2 separate regions of the Homo sapiens genome follow, and region 1 is linked to region 2. The links are contacts of gene promoters, found by promoter capture Hi-C in human tissues and cell types (Jung and others, 2019). All regions are on one chromosome and are shown on one strand. Each heading gives the region's core, a stretch centred on a gene start or on the middle of the fragment in contact. The rest is flanking DNA. Distances are from core to core; before and after follow the strand shown.

Region 1 (6,896 bases), core at 276-2,775, 500 kb after region 2:
ACCATTTTCATTAGCATATTAATCACACTCTACAATTTGTTTTTCCAGCCTCAGTCTTCTCAGAGTATAAAAAAGCTTAAATATTTTCTTAAAAATTTGTACTCTCCTCAGCTACTATGTAGGATCCAGTCATTTGAGCTGGTTTGAGGTGGTGTAGTGTATACTCTAAGGAGAATATAAACTTTTATCCCTTTATAGCCCTATTTTAGGTTGTTTCATTGGTCAGGAGCCCCTTGTATTTTTTCTCTCTCCAAGAGCTTTTGTGGAAGAGAAAGTTCAATGTGAGGGCTGAGGCTGTTAAGTGCCCAATTGGCATTTTTTTAAAAAATCTATTCTGAAAAGAATGGGACATTAAACAGCAGGACTGACAGCAGTAACTTAAGTCAGAATAGAGCATATATACTTGGCAGTAGCAGGAAATCCTTTTGCCCAAAGTAGAAAAAGTGATATGATTACCTGCTAGGAGCATTATACATACGTTTTTAGACATGAATTAACAGGCTAGAATCAGTCATGGTTAAAGGCACCTACATTTTTAAATGGATGGTAGATTTTCCAGGTTTTGTAAACTGGATGTTATAGGGATACCATTAGAACACTGGATACAGGCCAGGTGCAGTGGCTCACGCCTGTAATCCCAGCACATTGGGAGGCTGAGGCGGGTGGATCATCTGAGGTCAGGAGTTTGAGACCAGCCTGGCCAACATGGTAAAACCCTGACTCTACTAAAAATACAAAAAATTAGCTGAGCATGGTGGTGTGTACCTGTAATCTCAACTACTTGGGAGGCTGCGGCAGGAGACTCACTTGAACCCGGGAGGTGGAGGTTGCAGTGAGCCAAGATCACACCACTGCACTCCAGCCTGGGTGACAAAGTGAGACACCGTCTGAAAAAAAAGAAAAGAACTCTGGATATGGAGGTATTAGGTAGTTAAGAACTTGGGCACTGGAGTCCCATTCCTTGGACCCTTGCTAAGTGACCTTAAGTGCGTAACTTCTCTGTATCATAGTTTCTCCATCTGTACCTACCTCATGGGGTTGTGAAGTTAAATAGAATAATACTTTAAATAGCAGAACATAATAAGACTCAAATGGTAGCTATTATTATTTTAGAAAAAAAGAAAAGAGCATCTCTAAAATTAAGATTTTCCTCTGCCACCTTTCTTACATATAAACTTTAGACAATATGATAAACACTTTTTCTAATTTATGGTAATATTTGAGATACCTTTATTTCTTTACTGTATGATTAAGATAGGTTTGTAGGTATTCTCACCTTTTAGGTCATGGATTTGTCCTAAACCACATTAGAAATTAGAAGGATTGGAAGGCAGGTCTTCTGACTACACTGCTTTTTCTGTCGTACTCTAGAATAAGCAGTTGTAAGCTATTGTCAGCGTTCATCACTGCTTACATTCAGATTGTTCTTTTTTTTTTTGGTTTTTTTTTTTTTTTGAGACAGAGAATCGCCCTGTTACCCAGTCTCTTGTGCAGTGGCGTGATCTCTGCTCACTGCAACCTCTGCTTCCCAGGTTCAAGTGATTTATCTGCCCCAGCCTCCCGAGTAGCTGGGATTACAGGTGCGTGCCTCCACGCCTGGCTAATTTTTGCATTTTTAGTAGAGACAGGGTTTCACCATGTTGGTCAGGCTGGTCTCGAACTTCTGACCTCGTGATCTGCCCGCCTGGGTCTCCCAAAGTGCTGGGATTACAGGCGTGAGCCACCGCGCCTGGCTGAGATTGTTCTTAAGAAATCCAGATTAACTACCTGGTGGCTGGCAAGATGGCCAAATAGGAACAGCTCCAGTCTGCAGCTCCCAGGGAGATCCCAGGGAGATCAGCGCAGAAGGTGGGTGATTTCTGCATTTCCAACTGAGGTACCTGGCTCATCTCATTGGGACTGGTTAGACAGTGGGTGCAGCCCATGGAGGGTGAGCAGAAGCAGGGTGGGGCGTCACCTCACCCGGGAAGCCCAAGGGGTCAGGGAACTCCCTCCCCTAGTCAAGGAAAGCCATGAGGGACTCTGCCTTGAAAAATGGTGCATTCCAGCTCAGATACTATGCTTTTTCCACGGTCTTCCCAACCTGCAAACCAGGAGATTCCCTTGGGTGCCAACACCACCAGGGCCCTGGGTTTCAAGCACAAAACTGGTTGGCTGTTTGGGTGGACACTGAGCTAACTGCAGGAGTTTTTTTTTCATACCCCGGTGGCACCTGGAACACCAGCGAAACAACCGTTCACTCCCCTGGAAAGGGGGCTGAAGCCAGGGAGCCAAGTGGTGTAGCTCAGTGGATCCCACTCCCATGGAGCCCAGCAAGCTAAGATCCACTAACTTGAAATTCTTGCTACCAGCACAGCGAGACCTGAGACACTGGAGCTTGGTGGGGGGAGGGGGCATCCGCAATTACTGTGTAGAGTAGGCGATTTTCCCCTCAGGGTGTAAACAAAGCCACCTGGAAGTTAGAACTGGGCGGAGCCAACCGCAGCTCAGCAAAGCCAATGTAGCCAGACTGCCTCTGTAGATTTCTCCTCTCTGAGCAGGGCATCTCTGAAAGAAAGGCAGCAGCCCCAGTCAGGGGCTTATAGAGAAAACTCCCATATCCCTGGGACAGGGCACCTGGGGGAAGGGGCGGCTGTGGGCACAGCTTCAGCAGACTTAAACATTACTGCCTGCCGGCTCTTAAGAGAGCAGCGGATCTCCCAGCACAGCGCTTGAGCTCTGCTAAGGGACAGACTGCCTCCTCAATTGGGTCCCTGACCACTTTGCCTCCTGACTGGGAGATACCTCCCAGCAAGGGGCGACAGACACCTTATGCAACAGGAGAGCTCCGGCTGGCATCTGATGGGTGCCCGTCTGGGACGAAGCTTCCAGAGGAAGGTACAGACAGCAATCTTTGCTGTTTGGCAGCCTCCGCTGGTGATACCCAGGCAAACAGGGTCTGGAGAGGACCTCCAGCAGACCTGCACCGGAGGGGCCTGACTGTTAGAAGGAAAACTAACAAACAGAAAGGAATGGCATCAACATCAACAAAAAAGGACATCCATGCAAAAACCCCATCTGAAGAGCACTGGCGTCAAAGACCAAAGGTAGGTAAATCCATGAAGATGAGGAAAAACCAGTGCAGAAAGGCTGAAAATTCCAAAAAAAAAAAATGCATCTACTCCTCCAAAGGATCACAACTCCTCACCAGCAAGGGAACAAAACTGGATGGAGAATGAGTTTGACAAATTGACAGAAGTAGGCTTCAGAAGGTGGATAATAACGAACTCCTCCAAGCTAAAGGAGCATGTTCTAACCCAATGCAAGGAAGCTAAGAACCTTGAAAAAAGGTTAGAGGAATTGCTAGCCAGAATAACCAGTTTAGAGAAGAACATAAATGACCTGATGGAGCTGAAAAACAGCATGAGAACTTCGTGAAGCATACACAAGTATCAATAGTCAAATCTATCAAGCAGAAGAAAGGATATCAGAGATTGAAGATCAACTTAATGAAATAAAGCGTGAAGACAAGATTAGAGAAAAAAGAATGAAAAGGAATGAACAAAGCCTCCAAGAAATATGGGACTATGTGAAAAAGACCAAACTTATGTTTGATTGGTGTGCCTGAAAGTGAAGGGGAGAATGAAAACACTCTTCAGGATATTATCCTGAAGTGGGAAAACACTCTTTAGGATATTATCCTGAAGTGGGAAAACACTCTTCAGGATATTATCCACGAGAACGTCCCTAACCTAGCAAGACAGCCAACATTCAAATTCAGGAAATGCAGAGAACACCACAAAGATACTCCACAAGAAGAGCAATGCAAGACACATAATCATCAGTTTCACCAAGGTTGAAATGAAGGAAAAAATGTTAAGGGCAGCTAGAGAGAAAGGTCGGGTTACCCACAAAGGGAAGCCCATCAGACTAACAGCATATCTCTCTGCAGAAACCCTATAAGCCAGAAGAGAGTGGGGGCCAATATTCCAACATTCTTGAAGAAAAGAATTTTCAACCCAGAATTTCATATCCAGCCAAACTAAGCTTTGTAAGTGAAGGAGAAATAAAATCCTTTACAGACAACCAAATGCTGAGAGAGTTTGTCACCACCAGGCCTGCCTTACAAGAGCTTCTGAAGGAAGCACTAAATATGGAAAGGAACAACCGGTAGCAGCCACTGCAAAAACATACCAGATTGTAAAGACCATCGACCCTATGAAGAAACTGCATCGACTAACGGGCAAAATAACCAGCTAGCATCATAATGACAGGATCACATTCACACATAGCAATATTAACCTTAAATGTAAACGGGCTAAATTACCCAATTAAAAGACACAGACTGGCAATTTGGATAAAGAGTCAAGACCCATTGATGTCCTATATTCAGGAGACCCGTCTCACCTGCAAAGACACATATAGGCTAAAAATAAAGGGATGGAGGAATATTTACCAAGCAAATGGAAAGCAAAAAAAAGCAGGGGTTGCAATCCTAGTCTCTGATAAAGCAGACTTTAAACCAACAAAGATCAAAAAGGACAAGGGCATTACATAACGCTAAAGGGATCAATTAAACAAGAAGAGCTAACCTAAATATATATGCACCCAATACAGGAACACCCAGATTCATAAAGCAAGTTCTTAGAGACCTACAAAGAGACTTAGACTCCCACACAATAATAGTGGGAGACTTTAACACCCCACTGTCCATATTAGACAGATTAACGAAACAGAAAATTAACAAGGATATTCAGGACTTGAACTCAGTTCTGAACCAAGCAGACCTAATAGACAGCTACAGAATTCTCCACCCCAAATCAACGAAATATACATTCTTCTCAGCACCGCATCACACTTATTCTAAAATTGACCACGTAATTGGAAGTAAAACATTCCTCAGCAAATGCAAAAGAACGGAAATCATAAACAGTCACTCAGACCGCAGTGCAATCAAATTAGAACTCAGGATTAAGAAACTCACTCAAAACTGCACAACTACATGAAAACTGAACAACCTGCTCCTGAATGACAACTGGGTAAATAACAAAATGAAGGCAGAAGTGAATAAGTTCTTTGAAACCAATGAGAATAAACACACATCATACCAGAATCTCTGGGACATAGCTAAAGCAGTGTTTAGAGGGAAATTTATAGCACTAAATGCCCACAGGAGAAAGCAGGAAAGATCTAAAATTGACACCCTAATGTCACAACTAAAAAGAACTAGAGAGAGGCCGAGGCGGGTGGATCATGAAGTCAGGAGTTTGAGACCAGCCTGGCCAACATAGTGAAACCCCGTCTCTACTAAAAATATAAACAATTAGCTGGGTGCAGTGGCAGGCATCTGTAATCCTGGCTACTTGGGAGGCTGAGGCAGGAGAATCACTTGAACCCGGGAGGTGGAGGTTGCAGTGAGCCAAGATTGCGCCATTGCACTCCAGGGGGCCGTGTGAGACTCCATCTCAAAAATATTAATAACAAAAGATCCAGAGAAGCAAGAGCAAACAAATTCAAAAGCTAGCAGAAGACAAGAAATAACTAAGATCAGAGCAGAACTGAAGGAGATAGAGATACGAAAAAACCTTCAAAAAATCAATGATTCCAGGAGCTGGTTTTCTGAAAAGATTAACAAAATAGACCACTAGCCAGACTAATAAAGAAGAAAAGAAAGAGGAATCAAATAGACACAGTAAGAAATAATAAAGGGGATATCATCACCGATCCCATAGAAATACTGACTGCCATCAGAGAATACTGCAAACACCTGTACACAAATAAACTAGAATATCCAGAAGAAATGGATAAATTCCTGGACACATACACCCTCCCAAGACTAAACCAGGAAGAAGTCAAATCCCCGAGTAGACCAATAACAACTTCTGAAATTGAGGCAATAATTAATAGTCTACCAACCAAGAAAAGCCCAGGACCAGACGGATTCACAGCCAAACTTTACCAGAGGTACAAAGAGGAGCTGGTACCATTCCTTCTGAAACTATTCCAATCAATAGAAAAAGAGGGATTCCTCCCTAACTCATTTTATGAGGCCAGCATCATCCTGATACCAAAACCTGGCAGAGACACAACAAAAAAGGAAAATTTCAGACCAATATCCCTGATGAACATCAATGTGAAAATCCTCAATAAAATACTGGCAAACCAAATCCAGCAGCACATCAAAAAGCTTATCCACCACAATCAACTGGGCTTCATCCCTGGAATGCAAGGCTGGTTCAACATATGCAAATCAATAAACATAATTCATCACATAAACAGAACCAATGACCAAAACCACATAATTATCTCAATAGATGCAGAAAAGGTCTTTGATAAAATTCAACACCCCTTCAAGCTAAAGATTCTCAATAAACTAGGTATTGTTGGAATACTTCTCAAAACAGTAAGAGCTATTTATGACAAACCCACAGCCAATATCATACTGATTGGGCAAAAGCTGGAAGCACTTCCTTTGAAACTGGCACAAGACAAGGATGTCCTTTCTCTCCCCTCCTATTCAACATAGTATTGGAAGTTCTGGCCAGGACAATCAGCCAAGATAGAAAAATAAAGGACATTCAAATAGGAAGAGAGGAAGCCAAATTGTATATGTTTGCAGATGACATGATTGTATACTTAGAAAACCCCATTGTCTCAGCCCAAAATCTCCTTAAGCTGACAAGCAACTTCAGCAAAGTCTCAGGATACAAAATCAATGTGCAAAAATCACAAGCATTCCTATACACCAATAATAGAGAACTCCCATGTATAATTGCTACAAAGAGAATAAAATACCTAGGAATACAACCTACAAGGGATGTGAAGGACCTCTTCAAGGAGAACTACAAACCACTGCTCAAGGAAATAAGAGAGGATGCAAACAAATGGAAAAACATTGCATGCTCATGGATAGAAGA
Region 2 (6,859 bases), core at 1,599-4,098:
AAACCTTGCATTTAAAGAGTCCTTATGCAACATAGAGAGTAACAGGATGGTTACCAGAGGCTGGGAAGGGTAGTAGGGGTCAGGGGAAGGTGGACACAGTTAACGGGTACCAAAAAAAAAAAAATAGAAGGAATGAATAAGACCTACCATTTGATAGCACAACAGGGTGACTATAACCTGTGATAACAGGTTATTATAGTCAATAATAACTTAATTGTACATTTTTAAATAACTAAGAGTGTAATTAGATTGTGTGTAATACAAAGGATAAATGCTTGGGGGGATGGATACCCCATTCTCCAAGATGTGATTATTACGTATTGCATGCCTGTACCAAAACATCCCATGTACCCCATAAATATATACACCTACTATGTACCCTCAAAAATTAAAAAATAAAGAGTCCCCATACAAAAGATATAAGTCACAGCATCCTTACAAGATAGAGATCAGTGACATGGGCAAGCAACCTCACCTCTTACAGGGGGCATGTACCATCCTTCTATAGTGAAGAAGCATTTCCGTAAGTTAAAATTGAGATGAATCATATGGTTTCAGCCCCTAGAGTATGGTATTTTAGATTCAGGTCTAATTCCATAGAAGGAAGCCCTTACTTTCTTCAGGAATGAGGCAGTTTGCCATTTACCAAGCACGCTGGCCCCACTCATATCCATTTGGAGGACTTCAAATGTTGATGACAAGACTAAAGACCAGGAGCCTGGAATTTTTTACTTTCCGCAGGTAGAGACTGTAAAGCACATTGACGGCAGACTCCTATAAACTAAGAAACTTGTAAACTGGTACCTGGAAGGCAATTAGGCAGAAGTTATCAAGAACTTTATCAAAAGTGCATCCTCTCTGACCTACCAATTGCACTTCCTGGAATGTCAACTAAGAACATGTGCAAAGATTTAGCTTTTTAAAAAGTGATTCACGCTATTATTTATAATAATGAAAAACCAGAAAAAGCCTTAATGGCCCAACACTGGTTGAGCATACTGTGGTACACCCACTATTATACAGGATAATAGCAGGATACAGTAGTATGCATCATTATAAATGATGTAGAAATACATTTATTGACATTGAAACATATTTACAATACACTATTCTGTGAAAAAAGCAAGTTATAAAACAGTATGTGCAGTGTAAACTCATCATTGTTAATAGACAGCAATAAAGATATGCAGAAGAAAAAACTCTGAAAATGTACGCAGAAAAATGTTTATCAGTGGTGGGAAAATGAGTGGTTGTTTTCTTTTTTAAAATTATCTGTATTTTCTGATTTTTTCCCCTTCAATGAACATATAATTAGAAATACTTGTATACTTAGAGATGGTTCTAAAAATAAGCAACCAAACAGTAAATTGCCTTATGTTCAAAGGGGCTCCCACATCTGCACTCCCGCTCTCATATCCGCTAAGCATTTTTTTCCTCAAGGGAGTGACCACCTGCCAGGGCCTCAGAAGATGCCTAGAGACAACGTCTTTCCTCACTCCCAAGCCACTCCAGCCCTGCTGCCTCCAAGGTCAGGTTCAGCGCAAGAGTAGGCTCAGAAACAACTCCGAGCCAGTCCCTGGGTCGCTGCCCCAGAATTTAAGCCCATCCTTCAATTTCCTCAGCAGTCAAATATCCCTGGTCACTTACCTCTCCCGAGGGCAGCGCCCCGCGCTTGACCTCCTCGTAAGCGCCTACCTGCTCCCAGGTGGCCAGGAAGGCGTGGGTGGGGGTAAAGCGCGCAGAGCGCGGGAAGCCAGCGCGCACATAGCGGGCGGCCAGGCCCAGCACTGCGGGGGAGGTGTCCTCTCGGTACAGGACTCGGCCTCTGCCGTGGCTCGTGTCGATGTCCGCCAGAAAAGGGGCGATGGCCGGGAAGTCGGTGGGGAAATCATAGTCCACATACTGCGTTTCCCTGGGGAAGTCCTGAGTGGAGATGATGCCGTTGGTGCCCACCTGGGAGAGGAGAGGGACAAAAAGGTGACAGTCGCTCAAGCCCAAGGACGCTACCCTTTCGCGCAGGGAGGGAAGGGAACTGACTTAGGCAAAAAGCCTCTCTCTCCTTCCCCACTGGCCAGGGAGTCTGGATTCAGGGAAACAAGCGCAACTTTTGCGACTGTCCCAGCTCCGCGCTGCAGTAGGTCCAGGGGCCCTAAAACTCGTTCACCTATCTTCTCACTCCCCTCACAACCCCGGAGCCCCATGTCCTCGGAGAGGAAGCCTCCAGGTCTGAAGAGGGAACACCCCAGCTCCGCAGACGGGCACAGCCTTCTCGCGGTCCTAACTGCAAAGCCCGCTGGCCGCCCTAGCAACGCCACCTTTTCTGCCTGGGACGCGTACGTGGCTGCGAACAATTCTTGCTCTCCCCTCCAGGTCATTCTTGCTCCCCTACAGCAGCGGGGCAGGCAGCGGCATCGCTCTCTGGCCGGGTACCACCGCAAGGGTGCTGGGGGGCTCCAGGAGTGGGGTCTGTTTCCTCCCCTCTGGAGGCAGGGTTTCCGTGAGACCGACCCCAGGGAAGAAGCTGCGGGAAAAGTGCCAGGAGGGGGCTGAACTTACGTAGAGGTTGCTGAATCGGGCTTCGTAGAAGTGCAGGGGATTCGCCAGCTTCACCACGGCTGAGCTTTCGTCGTCGCCTTCCTGCAGGAGCTGGTCCCCCCACGACTCCCCGTGTGGGAAGAGCTCGTCTGGGTGCAGCGCCGCGGCCCGCAACATTAGCAACGGCAGCAGCAGTAGCACTGGTAACGACGACAGCACCGGCCGCCCGGCCACCCGGTCCCCCTCCATGCTCGCTCGGCCGTGCGCTTACCCGCTGCACAACGCGTCCCGCCCCGGCCTCCAGCCCACTCTCCGCGCCGCGCCAGCCTCGAACCTGGATCTCCGCGGGCGCCTGGGCGGGGCGGGACTCCAGGCCCACCCAGCAAGCTAATTGGCTGAGGCCCTCGGCTGGGGACCAATCACCGGCTCTGAGAAAGTTCGGCAGTGGCCACCACATCTGGTTCTCGTTAACTTTTCTAAGGCAGCGGCCGCTGGAGCAGCGGGGCTGGCGGGGTAAAAGCTCCTGGCCAGGGCTGCCTGGAGCTGCCCCTTCCACTCCGCCCCCAGGGAGCTCCCGGGTCATCCTCTCATCCGGGCTGCCCCGCGGCCCCCAAGGAGCCCCACCCCCGGGACCAAATGGCCCGCAAGGTTTGGGGCAGCGGCGTTGCAGGAGATGAGCTCAGCGCAAAGGGAACCCCGCAGCGGCGAGTGCGGCTGCTGGCCTGCGCGCTGTGGCCCCAACAGGCTGGCAGGGCGCGGGCGGGTGGCGGGGTTGCGGTATGAGCTTTGCTCCCTGCCCTGGGGTCCCGGGCGCTCCTGGCTCTGGAGGCCTGGCCATCGGTCCGAAAAGCAAAGGGACATTGTCGTGGTCCCCTCGGCCGCTTCGCTCCACCCAGAGACGCCCTGAGGAGAAGCGAGCCTTTGTACGAAGGCAGAGGGCTGACTCCTAAGTTCTGTCCCCCTCCCGAAGGCCGGCCGCTAGGGAAGACTTGGCCACCCTCTGGAAGTACCTTCCCCCGGGAAAACCGCAGCAGGAAAGACCATGAAATACTACTGTGTGTGATCCGCTCCGTTTGGGGAGTAGGATGAGGCATCCCGCTTGGTTACCAGGCAGAAAGGGGCGAGTCGCGGGGATGGGAAGACCCTGATCTCTTGCCCATTGCTGCGGCCGTCGGAGATGCCCTCCCCCGCGGCCACGGAGGCGGTAACCTGAGCTGCTCCGCAGGACTGGAAACCGCACAACCTCGAAACCAGCTGCGCAGGAGAAGGGGAACCCCATCCACCATAAACATCCCCTCTGCGAAGCCTCAGGAGCTGGAGGAGATTTTATTACCATTTTTATTATCAAGAGCTTAAAATTTCCCAGACAGTCTGTTTTCTCTCCCAGGCCCCCCATGAGGTCCTTAAAAGCAAAGATATTTAAAAAGAACGAAAGAAAGAAAAAAACCAAAAAGCAAATCCTTGGAAATGCCTTAAAGGACTCTCCAGAGACACACTGCTCTTTGTAGGTGTTTATTCCTATGGGCCCACTGGACCAAACGCTAAAAAACGTGAAGACATCAGACTGTGAGACTCATAGAGCAGACACAAAATGGAAAACTGGCCCAAAGCAGTTTGCTTCCTCAGAGTGGAGAGTTGTATATTTGATGTTCCAAAAATATATTTATGCTTGCACATATATTTTCTCATTCTTTCTGGGGTCAGGTATTTTTATTTTACTGAGGATGAAATGAAAGTTCAAAGACAGATGACTTGACTTGCCCAACATCATCTGAAGTTACTCCCTGATATAAAACTACTGGCCCTCTGTAGTTTTACTTTATCTCTCGATTCAGCATAATAATAATAACTAACATTTATTTAGTGGTACTAAGCTATGAGCTTTGGGGCAAGCAAACACTGAGATGGTCTCCAATGATCCCCATTTCCTGGTGTTCATTCCCCTGTATAATCTCTGCCCTGGGAGTGTGGACTGGCCTTGTGATTTCTAACAAACATAGTGTGGCAAGAGTGATGAGAAGAAGGCTAAATAAGATTGTGGCTTCTTCCTTGTTAGTTGACTTTCCCTCTCATTGATTTTGATGAAGCAAGCTGTTATGTCGGGGAGGCCCACATAGCAAGGAACTGAGGAGGGCAGCCTCTGGCCAACAGTCAGCAAGGAACTGAATTCTGCCAACAACCATGTCAGTGAGCTTGGAAACGGATCCTTCCCCAGTTGGGTCTTGAGATGGTATCTCAGCGCTGGCTGACATTTGATTGCAGCCTTGCAAGAGACCCTGAAGCAGAGGACCCAGCTAAGCCAGGTGCAGATTCCAGACCCACCAAAACTGAGAATTATAGTTTTGGTTAGATTATAATTATAGTTTTGGTGGGATTCCAGACCAACCAAAACTGAGAATTACAGCTTCAGCTTCAGAAGCTGAAGAAGCTGTGTGTTGCTTTAAGCTATTACATTTTGGGATAATTTGTTATGCAGCAATAGACAACTGATAACAGGTAGTCGTTGTGTTAAGGAAACTAAAGCTCAGATGGGATTTTAAAAAAATCAGTTATTATCACATGGCTGGTAAGTACCAAAGCTGAGATTTGAACCCAATTCTGTCTGATCTCTAAACCTCCACTCCTAACCACTAAATTATATTGCAGCAAGGCCCTTTGGAAAGTAGCTCTAGTTTATGTCTCTAACTTTATCTCCCGTCACAGCCACCCTGAAGTCTCACCTGAAGCTGAGACTTTAATTCTCCAATACAACATCCTCACAGGTAAGTCCTTTTACCTACAGTAAAAGGTCAATTTCTTGGTCAATTTCAAGCCAACACCTTCTCATCTTTAAGGCTTGAATCAAAACCCTCCTCCTTCAGGAATCTGGGAAGAGAAAAGAATTCCCCACATCTTTTGCAAAAATCTCATTAATAATCCACCCCATTTAGCTTATAATCAATAAATAACCATAAGTATAATCAGTCAAGCAGCCGACGCCACTGCTCTGCCTATTCTTTTGTTTCTTTACTTATCTAATAAAGTCACTTTCACTTTACTTTGTAGACTCACTCCAAATTCTTTCTTGCACCAGATCCAGGAGCCCTCTCTTAGGGTCTGGATCAGGAACTCTTTCCAGTAACACTACTGCCCCCTTTTGAGCTATGTATTCATCCTTGAAACTGCTTGCTATTGCCACAAGTAACTATACATTAACCTAATAATGTCACACTGGACACTATCACTCATAGCCTATAGCTTAACAGTGCATAGCCAATCAGTGAGCAATGTTGTTTCTGTAAACCAATGTGAATTCCTTACAAACAATTTCATATCGGCCTACTCCCTGTCCCCCTTTTCTGCCTGTAAAAAACCTGCTTGTAATAAAGGCGGCATGAAGCTCATATCCAGGGTTACTTGGGTCTAAGTCTTCCGGGCAACTGTCCTCACTTTGGCTCAAGTAAATGTTTTGTTATATTTTGTGCCTCTGTCTTTTCCTTTCAGGTGGACGAAGCTTTCCTGGAATCCACAGTCTGATTTAGAAGCCCTTTCTCCTTGCTTCCATGTGCCCTGTGCTTGCCGTGATCATACCTCCTATCACACATCTCTCCCATAATCCTGATCTCCACATGCTTCCCTTACCACCACCACCACCACCACCACCACCACACCTGGAGGGCAGGGATTTTGCCTTCTTCAGTGTCTGCCGCAATGCCTGCCTGGCTCACTTGAAGTGTAAGAAATGTTTGTTGAATGAGTGAAGACAAGCAAGCCAGCCTGGGACTAGGACCCATGTCTGCTGGCTCAGAATGCAACATTCTTTCCCCTACACCACCTTTCCTGCTAATCTGACCTGACTCTTGTAATCCTCTTTACCAGGCTGCCTAGCAACTCACCTACCACTGCTCTCCCATTTTTGTCATTCTTTCATTCATTCATCCATTCAACAACAATTTCCTGAAAGTACACCATGACAAACACAACTCTGCAAGAAATAAAGGAGTACAAAATGTGGCCCCTGACCTTAAAGAGCTCATGATCTGGTTGGGGAAACAGAGCATAAGAGGATGTCACTAGTTTTGAATCTGATGCAATCTGAGTACAAAAAAATAGTTCCAATAGAGAAGATGCTAAAACGAACAGTTTTGTTTTCCTGTCTGCATAAAGTGGCTGAATTCTCCCTGAAATAGGAGGCTTTGGACAGCTGTGCTTAAGAGAACATGCCTTTGAGCTTTTATTCTGATATTATTTTTAAAAGACGCTATGGCACCAAGAGTGGTTTCTTCTTTAAAATGTCATTTTGTGTCTTGGGGAAAAAGAAAAAAATCTGCCGTGGCTCTTTCAC

Evidence for each region. Contacts are between HindIII fragments. The study calls those that stand out against the background at their distance.
Region 1: a contact is called between a fragment that was not itself captured here and the fragment with the promoter of NID2 in region 2, in 1 of the 25 tissues and cell types used here (spleen).

Annotation. Positions count from the first base shown.
Region 1 is chr14:52,566,223-52,573,118 of GRCh38, forward strand. The region is part of intron 1 of GPR137C (G protein-coupled receptor 137C); the gene reads left to right. Among named protein-coding and RNA genes, the nearest start is that of GPR137C, 17 kb to the left of the region's middle. RefSeq lists enhancers at 1,505-2,220, 2,221-2,936. The HindIII fragment of the contact is 3,840 bases long and covers 1-3,445 here.
Region 2 is chr14:52,066,211-52,073,069 of GRCh38, forward strand. NID2 (nidogen 2) reads right to left here and starts at 2,849. Exons shown (of 22, transcript NM_007361.4): 1 at 2,557-2,849; 2 at 1,648-1,953. The coding sequence starts at 2,784. It overlaps LOC105378180 (a long non-coding RNA gene), which reads left to right and starts at 3,026. Exons shown (of 2, transcript XR_943864.4): 1 at 3,026-5,297; 2 at 6,019-6,859. The HindIII fragment of the contact is 10,101 bases long and covers 1-6,793 here.